Regions from separate parts of the Homo sapiens genome. Here region 2 is linked to region 1. Evidence: promoter capture Hi-C in 16 types of primary human blood cells and fetal thymus (Javierre and others, 2016). All regions are on one chromosome and are shown on one strand. The core of a region is centred on a gene start or on the middle of the fragment in contact, and the rest is flanking DNA. Distances in the headings are between cores, read along the strand shown. Region 1 holds the start of NKAIN2 (sodium/potassium transporting ATPase interacting 2). Region 2 overlaps NKAIN2 (sodium/potassium transporting ATPase interacting 2).

Region 1 (5,166 bases), core at 774-3,273:
GATTAATTTGAGGAGGTAATAGAATGCTTTTGACAGTATGGCAGCAGCTTCTTCAACAGTCAATTAACTTACAGCTTTCTGTTTGGCAATGCAAAATACCCATAGCCCTAGCAGGTACAGGACAGCTAACGTGTATAAAGACAGAAGAGCAACTAAGAGAAACATTTTCCACTAGATAACTGGCTTCAGTTTTACCAAAGGTTGTGGAACTATTACCTTCCAGGCTTTGCAGTGCCTAAGAGCACATATTGGGCTCTTGGGAATTTTATTAAACATTGAAAGACACTTTTCAGAAGAAAAGCCCCTTTACAAATGGGTCGATTAAAACCAGACATTCTCATTATAGCAATAAAATATCTGTGCTCCATAAATTTAACAAAGTTAATCCCTTTTTGGCTCCCTAGGACTGACGAAACGTTTCTGAAAATTCAGTGCCAGGCTCTGGAGAATAGTCTCTCTGCCCTATTCAATTTATTTGTATTTAGTCATTCTGATACGTCATAATGTTTATTCAAAGGAAGCAATCATTCGGGATCCTTATTTGTGGTTCCCAGCATAACTTTATCCTGTATAAATGCCATTTTTCTCAGTAGGCGCCAAGTTCCAGTTGCTACAGAGAGCTCTCTGCTTGATGTGGCTTCGTCATCTTAATCTCTTAAGAAGGGTGCTAGGGAGCTGTTTGCTATTTAGCTCCCTAAACCATCCTCTTATCAATCGCGACACTTCACCCCAATGAGTCAGTTCCTCAGTGGATCTCAACAAATAATCTTCACTTCCTGGAAAAGTTAGGATTGCTTTCCTTAGCTGCCAGGGCTAAAAAGGAAACTTGGTCCTAAATATCCACGCCCCAGGGGCAGCCACTTGGGCCAGCATGTTGCGCCCTTCAGCTTTCCGCCCGCAGGTGGCAGCAGCGGGCTCCGAAGCCTGTCTCTGCAGGTAGCAGCCGCTTCACAGCTTTCAGGCCGGTGCTCAGCGGAGGCTGGTGCATCTCCACTAGGAATCCACACCCAGCTGGGACTGCTGTGAAGCTGAAGTAACTGAGTATTAAACTAGTCTCCGACTCTTTAGTATTTTAAGTGAAAACAAACAACAGTTTGAAGCAGCAACAGCAACTCATTGCATCCCTATTCCCTCCGGTTGCTAATTTTTCCCAACTCCAGCAGCAACTCGGTCCCCTTCCCCAAGCAGGGTCGGCTCCGTAGCTCTCCGCGCTCCGACCCTTCAGATCCTCGGGAGCCCAGGGGAGCCAGGTGCTGGGCGGTGCGTCCGGTGCCGCCGCGCCCCTTCTCGCCACCTCTGGCCTCTCCGCCACTCGGGCTTTCCGGCCGCTCTGGATGCCTCGGTTGCACCCCTGTTCCATGACCCCAGCTTCCTTCCCTAACCCTCCTCTTGGTCCCTTCTCCCCCGAGCGCGCGCGCACACACACACTCGGTTCGCTCCCGCGGAGTGGCTCTGGGAGCACGACCGACTTCAGCTCAGCAAACCGCGGTCATGCCGCCCAGACTCCTCGCCCCGAGGCCCCGGTCCCCGCCGCCGCCGCTTTCGCGCCGCTCCTTTCCGCCTAGACACCGCCGCCTGCGGCCGCCTGGGCGGCAGCCCCTGCGGTCCTCAAAGTTGGCCCCCTGGGAGGGGGCGGCAGGGAGCAGGATGAAGGATTTGTTGTAGGAGGAGGATTCACACATCTGGGCGAAGGGAGGGGCAGCGCCGCTGCTGGGACGCGGCGCGGACCCGCATCATTGCGCGCAGCAGCCGCTGCAGCAGCCGCCGGGGACCGCGGAGCCGGGACGCCCCCGCTCGGCCCGCGCCCCGCTCCCCGCCCCACCCCCGCCCGCCGGGCCCAGCAACGCAGGGTGCCTAGGAGCCGCGGGCTGCGCAGGGAGGCGGGCAGCGGCCCTCGCGCGCTTCTGCCGCCCCCGGAGCCGGCGCGCGGCGAGCGCAGGGCGAGCGCGCGTCGGGCGGCGGCCGCGCTGGGGGGCGTGAGGCGAGCGGCGCGGAGAGCGGCAGGGGCGAAACTTCGCGGGCCAGATGCCCGAGGGCGCGGCGGCGCTGCCAGGCTGCCGCTGCTGCCCCTGCGGGCCCCGAGCGCGCCTCCGCAGGCGGCACTGCCCGCGGCGCGGCGTGTGCACCGAGCGAGTGAAGGTATGTGTGGCGGGCGCGGCTGGAGCTGCCGCCGCCGCCGCCGCCGCGCCAGCAGGTCCTAATGCCTGTCACTTCCCAGGACGCTGGCAGCAGCAGCAGCCCGGAGCCCCCGAGCCCTCGGCAGGTTTGCGTGTCCTTCCCCGCGATCTGATTGGATAAAGTGGGGGCTCGACGGTGGCCGACGTGGGACAGTCTGGCTGTGGCAGGGGTCTCGGAAACCATGGGTTATTGCAGTGGCAGGTGCACGCTTATCTTTATCTGTGGCATGCAACTGGTAAGTGACACTTGGGTCCCCTTATTCTGTAATGTGTCTTTGAGATAGTGGGCAGGGGAGTGCAGCAAAGGGTCTGCCATTGACTAGAATGGACGAAAAAGATAAAAGAGAAGGTGACAGATATATTGCCTATATTGAAGATGATTTCAGGGAGACGCACTCTGGGGTACAGGAGAGGTGAGCCTTTCCGTTCCCACCTATTTCTGTCCCTTTTAAGACAGTTTGGCAGGTGCGGGTTAAACTTGTCTTTAATTTCTTTAGGAAAAGCAAGATGTAGCTCTTGTTCTTTATGCTTTGCATTCCTATTCATGTAACAACGTGATTGTCACCTACAATTTACCGTACAGGTTGTTAAACAGAGGAATACGGAATTTTGGACTTTTCTTCTCTATACTAATTTTGCAGTATCTTTGTTTCTTCATAGACATGTTTTTTTTCTTTTTTTAAGGAAAATGTTGTCTTTAAGTATAATGCTCTAAAAAAACCACTGTTTAGGGCACATGGTATCCTTACAACAGTCTAATTTAGACTGTTTGAGTTTTAGCCACATTGAGTTTTTAAAGTATGCAGATTGAACAAAAATACTTAGGTGAACTCAGCAACACCATTGTCATAGACGGAACCAGTAACCTTTAAATCACAATTAACACAGACAATTCCAAGAAAAACTATTCTGTCTTACATTATGCATATTATTGCTCCTGAAATAGATACTGTTGTCTGATCCTATAGGATGGAGAATTCTATGTACTTTTTGAGGAATGTTGTACAGTTGCAAAGGGGCAAGGAACCAATAATGGAAAACGTCATGTCTCTGAATTTCAATTCCCTAAGGGCAATGGAAGGAGGGTCTGAGTAGAGAGTTGAGAGGTGAAAAATACACCACTCTAAGTGGTTAATTTGAGGTAGGAGCTACTTGCTCACACTTGTCATTAAATATATTTCCTTAGAAAGTATAAATTAACTGGAATAGTCATGTCCGTTTTCAACAACTGTTTCATAAAGGTTGAAGTGACTACAAGGCAGAAGATGTTTAAGTGTCCAATCAGTAAAGTGTTCAAAAGAGCAAGGATTTGCCATTGAAACTGGCAGAGGAATTCCTTAAGTGTTCTTGTTTATCAGTTGTCGTGAAGCCCATGAGTGTTAGTTATTGCTGCTTTGTTTAATATTTAGCTGAAACAGTGCTTTTTGTTGTGTGTTGTCTTAGGATGTTTTTCTTTCCCCTGAAAGTTATCTGATGGTGTCTATTTTGATCTGTGATTTATGCGCTTATGCACTTGGTTGTAAGACAAAGATGGAACTATAAATGTAATTTTCAGAATGTGGTAGTTTCTCAATGATGTGTAAACCAGTTTATTTTTCTGTACCACAGATTCATATAAGTTTTGCAATGAAGGATTTTTACTCTTAATAATAAAGCTAACCAAAACAATGAGGGAGTTTACTTTGTTAAACAACCCATTAGGCTAAGTCTGCCAAACTGTATAAAGGTTTTCAAAACATTCTTATTTTTATATATTATTCAGAAAAAGAATACATTTGCTGATTCACTGTGTGAAAGCATAAAAATGTGAGAATGAGTGGGTGTGTAGATCATTCTTATGCTCTTTTCGATTTAAAATTTGAAAAATGTGATTTAACTTCTAATCATGTAATATAATAGGGCTTTCTTATGGCAAATGTATGCACTAGGTCTGTATGACATTTTGTGTGATGAATACAAACTCCTCAAGAACTTAATTTTAGAAAAACATAAATATACCAGTAGGGAAGCTATCTATTCAAAGTAGAATGATAAAGCTAAAGGTTCCTTTGTGTTTTTATGTGCTCACATATGTGTGTATGTACATATGCTCTTGAGTACATGCATGCATCCATACATACAATGGTGTCTTGGAGAGTTGCACCATCACTTATGAAACAGAAATTCTGAATTATAATTAAGTTCTCTAACAGAATAGACGTAGCTGTAATACAGAAGAGCACAATCTAAGTAAGTGTACATTGGAATCCTAAGGAGTTTTTATATTATATGAGAATCATGTGATTTTTCCCATTCAGACTTTATGTGCCACCAGGCTAATATAATTAGCAGCCATGTTAACGCAGATGCAGAACAAAAAACAAAGGACAAAGAAAATGCAATTGTTTTGATAGGGTGAAATGATCACACCTCAAAGGACCTCAGAGATTCTTGGTAATTGTTGCTTTTTGGAAATACGGTATTTGATTTTAAATAAAATAATTCTTTTGCAAATTAATAGTTGCAAAGCCCTGCACTAAAAAATAGGTGGGTGTGTATGTTTTCCTTTTGCTCTCAATAGATTTTTAAAAACTTTTTATGTCTTTGCGCTATTATGAGTAGATTGTTTTACAAATAAACCAGGTTTCTAGACTAAGTTATGACTCATGTACCATTGACTGAAATAAAAGTTAACCCAGTTTTGTTTACTTCTCAAGTGTTTAGTATGTGTTCTTGTAACATTTGGGCATCTTTTTTTTGGTAACTGTACAGGAAAAAAGGCCAAAGAGACTCTAAGTTAGAAACTTTATTCAGTTGCTTTATTATGTGACTTGATTAAGGTTCTGGAAACATTAATCTCCAGTCCTCGGAGCAAAGTATTTGTATTTTAAATAAATTTAAGGGAATATTTACATCTGTACCAATTTGCAGCTAATCTTAGGAGAGGATGAGGTGGCTTTTGGTATTGTGGATATGGTGATCTCATTTATTAAGTTATTATCAGACCAGA
Region 2 (5,714 bases), core at 1,904-4,403, 170 kb after region 1:
CAGGCTTTATCAGAAATACATTTGTGGGAGTGGGTGTGCACATGTGTATGTTTTAAGCCATTGAGACTCCGAGAGTTTTCTTTGAAATTGCAAATACTCTTCAGGGGATAAAACACATTCAGTTATCATCAGTTGTCAGTATAATTGGTTTTTCTGATTCTTTTCTTCATGGCATCTAGCCGAGTTCACTGGGAAGCCAGCTAATAATGTGCTGAGTACTGGGCCAAGCACCATTTCTGTAGTTAGACTTACAACTTGCCCCCCTTTTGACTCTGCTACTCTCTATTGTTTGTTATCTTATCCTACCAATAATTGCAGCTTTTCATGTCCTCATCATATTTCCCATACACTGGGCCAGAACTGGTGCTAGAAGAATCTTCCCTGTGGTTTTCCACCCCCAACTGAAGGTTGGTGTAGAGCACAGAAGTCCAACAAAGCCAATGTAACATCACCCAATGTGAACTGACACATTATGTGAAAAAAAAGGGGGGGAGTGTGTGTATATATACACATACTCACAACTACATAGATATAGTATACATTTGAAGAAAGTATTGGTTCTTACACTTTCTCCTTTTAAGTATAGAGTGAGGGTTCTTTTCTCCTTCTTTGTTCCTCCACTTCGATTATGTACAAACTCCCTTAAGGTATTAAAGGTGCCCTGAGGAGCCAGTGTGCTCGCTCTCTGTGGTATCTCAACACTTAACTAATCGTGCCTATAAAGTGACGCTCTAAGGGCTCACTTAAGAAGAGGAGAAGAGGGTTCAGGTGCCTCTCAGGATGTAAAATGATGAGTTCTGGATGCATATTTCTAACAGATGGACACGGCATTAAGAAAGCAGCCACAGAAGGCAGCAGGTGGAGCAGGCAGCTGGAAAGCGCAGCCACTTGCAGGAGCACTTGACATTAATTACACCTGTTGGAATTCTCGCCCAACTTTTTGCTTTCAAATGTGTTCTCAGTATAATCACTGTGAGGCAGGGGGAAAAGAAAAGCAGCTGAGGGCTGGAAACAGGAAATGGAGCACTTGCACTGAGAGCAAAGAGAAAGAGGTGGGCCAGGGGGACGGCTTTTCTGGCTCATGCCCTTCAATTAATCACATGTCCAAAATAGGAGCCACGGGTGCTATTACTTATAGTGGTCCAGATGATTCCATCTTGGGGCTGAAGAGGACAATTTAAAAACAATTAAACAAATGTTCAAAGCAGTAAAAGCAGGAGTATGCATTCAGTCCTTTAGAAATTAAACATGTTGCTCTGTATCTGAAGAGATTAAATATATACATTTAATGTTTTGTATCATCTGAGCTCATTTCAAAACTTTCTTGGGCCATGTAGTGATTTTCCAAATCTCTGAGATTCTTCATTTATTTCTGCCTGTACAATGGGATCCTAGCTTTCTCTAAGCTGTGTCCTAGTTATCAGCACAACTTGCATCTTCTGCTACTCTATGGCTCACAGTGTGGCTCCTTTCATGATAAACTTATATCATTGCCTGAAGCTGTGTGGATGTTCTAGTCTGCTTCCGCTATTCTTTCTCTCTGGAATGCCCCTGTTAGCCTTACAAATTTCTGCTCACCATTAATTGTGAACTCAAGGGTTAAATGTGTAATAAAGCCTTCAGTGATTGTCCCAGGCAGACCTGAGCCTTCACCCTCCTCAGAGTCACAGGACCTTTCCCATTCATTTTCAAAGTGTGGAGCACCTTGCTGTGCTGGGCTGGCCTGGACCCCCTCCTCTGGGCCATGAGCTCTGTGAGGAGAGCTCCATTTCTACTCTTCTGTAGTTTCCTCCTTCCCCCCAGCTCATAGTCCCCCACTTTATAGTTCTGACTAAATGTGATTTGAATATAAGTTGCCTTTACCTGGAGGTATAGGTCCCACCACTGAAAAATAATTTTAACCCAATCTCAGTATCTCCTGAGAAAAAATAAGATGCGGCTTTCAAAACTATCAATTGTCTTCAGGTTTTTGCTCACTTTCCAGTGAGACTTACCCTGACTACCACTGTATTACAAAATGGCAAGCGCCTTAGGTATTAATGTGTGATGGGATTTTTGCTCATTATGGTATGAAATGATGTGAGGTAAAACATATATTTTTATAAGGAATAAGGATGGAGTTAAAAAGGTCTGTTGAAGTGAAGTAAAGAGGAAATGGAAATAAACATGATTGTGAAGAGATGGCTGCGGTTTAACAATGCATCCAGCTGAAGAATAAATCTACCTCTGCTAATAATAGAGGTTGATTTTTCTCACCAAGATGACTGGCACACATTTATGTAGACCTAAATGAAGGGACCGTTGCACTAGCTCAGTAATGCCGGAGCCAGAATCTGTGTAGTAAGACTTTTTTGTTTTTCTCTCATGGTTTCAAGATGCCTGCCAGAGCTTCAAATAGCATGCCTATTTTCAAAAGGAATGGAGAAGAGAGTTGCACAGAGACCTTTAACACATTTATCAGGAAAGCAAAAGCTTCAACAGAATCCACTCTGGATACAGTTGCCAGTGTCTAGATGGGCAATGCCTTGATGTCACTTAGCTTCCCCTAGGACAGAGTAAAGAAAGGAAGGATTTTACTTTCCCAGCCTCTGTCCTGGAGCTGGGAGAGAGGAAAAGGGATTTGGAATGATCTCTGGGTTACCCAACCAGCAGTGTCTGCCGCAAAAATAACTAGTAGATAAAATGAATTGGCCAAAATAAGTAAATTGAAAGAAGACATTCACTTATAGTGGATATATAAGTAAAATGAATAATTCAATCAAAGGATAAAATAATATGTCTTAGGACAAATGCATAAACTAGATGTATGTATCAAATACATAATTTTAAAAACAAGATATGAGAGCAGAATTGTACAATATTATACTACTCATGTCATTAAAACACACAAAATACTGATTATTAAATGGATATATATATATATATGTATAAATGTTTAAAAACATAAACTGGAAGATACACATCAAATTCAGCCTAGTAGTTGCCTTCTTTGTGGAAGAAGAGGGTAATAGGGAAGAGGAACAAAAGGAACTTCATTTTATTTTGCAAAGTTTCACTCCTGTCACAAAATCAAATGGTAAGGCTGGTATGTATATGAGAGTTTGGTGAGAAAAACAACTAGAAGAAATAGTAAGAGTTTAAATTTAGTTCTATCACTGAAAATAAATTTAAAGGAGCATAAAATGAAAACACAGATGGGATTCTAATTGCCACGAAAGCCTAAGAAATAGAGACATAATTTACCACGGGAAATAGTACTGAATGAGGAAGAAGCCCCAGAATCAGCCTTTGACTTTGGTTCTGAACTTACTCACTTTGAACTTTAGCTTTCTGACTTGAAAGATGAGGATTTTTGTTTTTATTTTTTCATTGTTCTTTAGAAATATTTATCGTTTGGCTGGGTGTGGTGGCTCATGTCTGTAATCCTAGCACTTTGGGAGGCCAAGGAGGGCAGATTGCCTGAGCTCAGGAGTTTGAGACCAGCCTGGGTAACACGGTGAAACCCCATTTCTACTAAAAAAATACAAAAAATTAGCCAGGCATGGTGGTGCGTGCCTGTAATCGCAGCTACTTAGGAGGCTGAGGCAGGAGAATTGCTTGAACCCAGGAGGCGGAGGTTGCTGTGAGCTGAGATCGCGCCACTGCACTCCAGCCTGGTCGACGAAGTGAATCTCTGTCTCAAGAAAAAAAAGAAAAAAAGAAATATTTATTTTTTAAGAATATTAACTATTTTGTAATAAGGCATGCTTTAAAACAATCTTTGCAATTTAAGTCATAAACTGTGGTGGTCCTGTAAAACATCAAAATTGTTCATTTATTTGATTTATATTTATTGAAAGCTTACTATATGCTGGAAGCCTAGGAAATAGGGCATAAATCAATCAAAAGTTCTAGTGCTAATGAAAATGATAGTCTGACTGGGGCCAGAGATAGTAAGTACATACTTAGTATATAAGGAAGCCCATGAAGCAAAATGTAGCAGGATCAGAGAGTACTCAGGGCCAGGTGACAGTGGAACTAATGCTCTAGTAGCTAGATTAGGTTTCTCTTACAAGGCACTATTTAGCCTAGAAAGAATGTAAAAGTCAAATATCTTTCACAAGTAACATTTGCTATGAGTAATTTAAATTATATATTATATAAAATATATTAATATAGTAATTATAACTGCCTTGTATTTTAATACGGATTTGTATGTGCTTCAAGGGGTTTTGTTCTTTCTTTTTGCACACATACTGCTTTTTATCATAGCACTCCCATCCAGACAAGAAGTATACATTCTCTGCTTTGTAGTCAATCTCTTTGTGTCAGTTTGGATGGAAACCTGACTTTGTGTCAGTTTGGATGGTTTGATTCCTACACATCTAATATCTTGAGCGGATATTCCTGGATGAATAATGGTAAAGTTATCTCCCTTAGGAAAGCTTGTTGTCCCCATCATGTCTGTGTTACACAGCCATTGGATATACAACATTGGCTGGAGTGGGGAAGGTTTGGGGGATTTTCTTATCAGCTGTCTTCTGCTCTTAGTTAGTGAAATCTAACAAGCACCCAGACCGATAACATGTGAGTTTCCATTTGAAAGTTTGGCTCTTGTTTATAAATATTAATACGGTTGAAAGTTAATATATTTTGAAAAATGCTTTAAGATGTTTTAAAAAAGGCTTTTAAAGTTTCATATTCTGCAAGAGTCTGGACAAGTAAAATACAATTGGCCTTTGAACAACATGGGTTTGAACCACACAAGCTTACTTATGCTCAGATTTCTTCTGCCTCTGCCACCCCTGAAACAGTAAGACCAAGCTTTCCCCTTCCCCAACCATTCAACATGAAGATGACAAGGATGAAGAGAGGATTCCATTTCCACTTAATGAATAGTAAATATATTTTCTCTTTCTTATGCTTCTCTTAACATTGTTTTCTCTAGCTTACTTTATGGTGAGAATACAGTACATAATACATAGAATACACAAAATATGTGTTCATCAATGGTTTATGTTATCAGTATGACTTCCTGTCAACAGTAGGTTATTAGTAGTTAAGTTTTTGGAAAGCCAAAAGTTACTGTGTGAGGGGTTGGCACCCATAACCTCCATATTGTTCAAGGGTCAACCATACATTATTTAGATTTGATCAAACTGGATTTTTAGTATGTTTTTGATTTTAGGTCATCACAGAACTCAAGGGATTTCTGAGACAAATAGCCTAATGGAAGATTAAACGCAAACTGAAAAAGATCTTAATTTACTGAGAAAACTGGAGATAGGAACTAAGGTTTAAAATCTGAGTAGCTGAGAAGCTGCCACTTATTCCAGTGTCTGAAACATGGATATATTGAAAGATTGAAAGAAAATCTTATAATTGAACAGTGAGCGTCTTTGGATATTGTGTAAAAAGCTCTATAAAAGATAAGAGCCTGATGTTAGCTTGGAGAAAGTCCCCCTTGCCTTATTAATGTTGGTAAAACTTTGTTACTACTCAAAAAATAGCCATCAACTTTAAAACCAACAAACATTTTCATAAGCCACTAATATTGACCATGCCATTTAGTTCTACCTTATTTATTCTTTGACTTCCAGGAATAGATTCCCTTTCCTCCTCTGGAGATCATGGGATTGGAAATTTTGGCCAATGGTAGATAAATACAAAGTTGTTGTGAGGTCTGCATGTGTGCTGGAATATACATACTGTGGTTAGAAAAGTGCCTGATACAT

What was found. The method cuts DNA at HindIII sites, captures the fragments that hold promoters and counts their contacts. A CHiCAGO score of 5 or more calls a contact.
Region 2: a fragment that was not itself captured here is called in contact with the fragment with the promoter of NKAIN2 in region 1 in 1 of 17 cell types (megakaryocytes); the score reaches 6.0 in megakaryocytes.

What each region holds. Positions count from the first base shown.
Region 1 is chr6:123,801,842-123,807,007 of GRCh38, forward strand. NKAIN2 (sodium/potassium transporting ATPase interacting 2) reads left to right here and starts at 2,024. Exons shown (of 7, transcript NM_001040214.3): 1 at 2,024-2,413. The coding sequence starts at 2,360. RefSeq lists an enhancer at 780-829. The HindIII fragment of the contact is 9,489 bases long and covers 1-5,166 here.
Region 2 is chr6:123,967,202-123,972,915 of GRCh38, forward strand. All of the region lies in intron 1 of NKAIN2 (sodium/potassium transporting ATPase interacting 2), which reads left to right. Among named protein-coding and RNA genes, the nearest start is that of NKAIN2, 170 kb to the left of the region's middle. The HindIII fragment of the contact is 1,367 bases long and covers 2,471-3,837 here.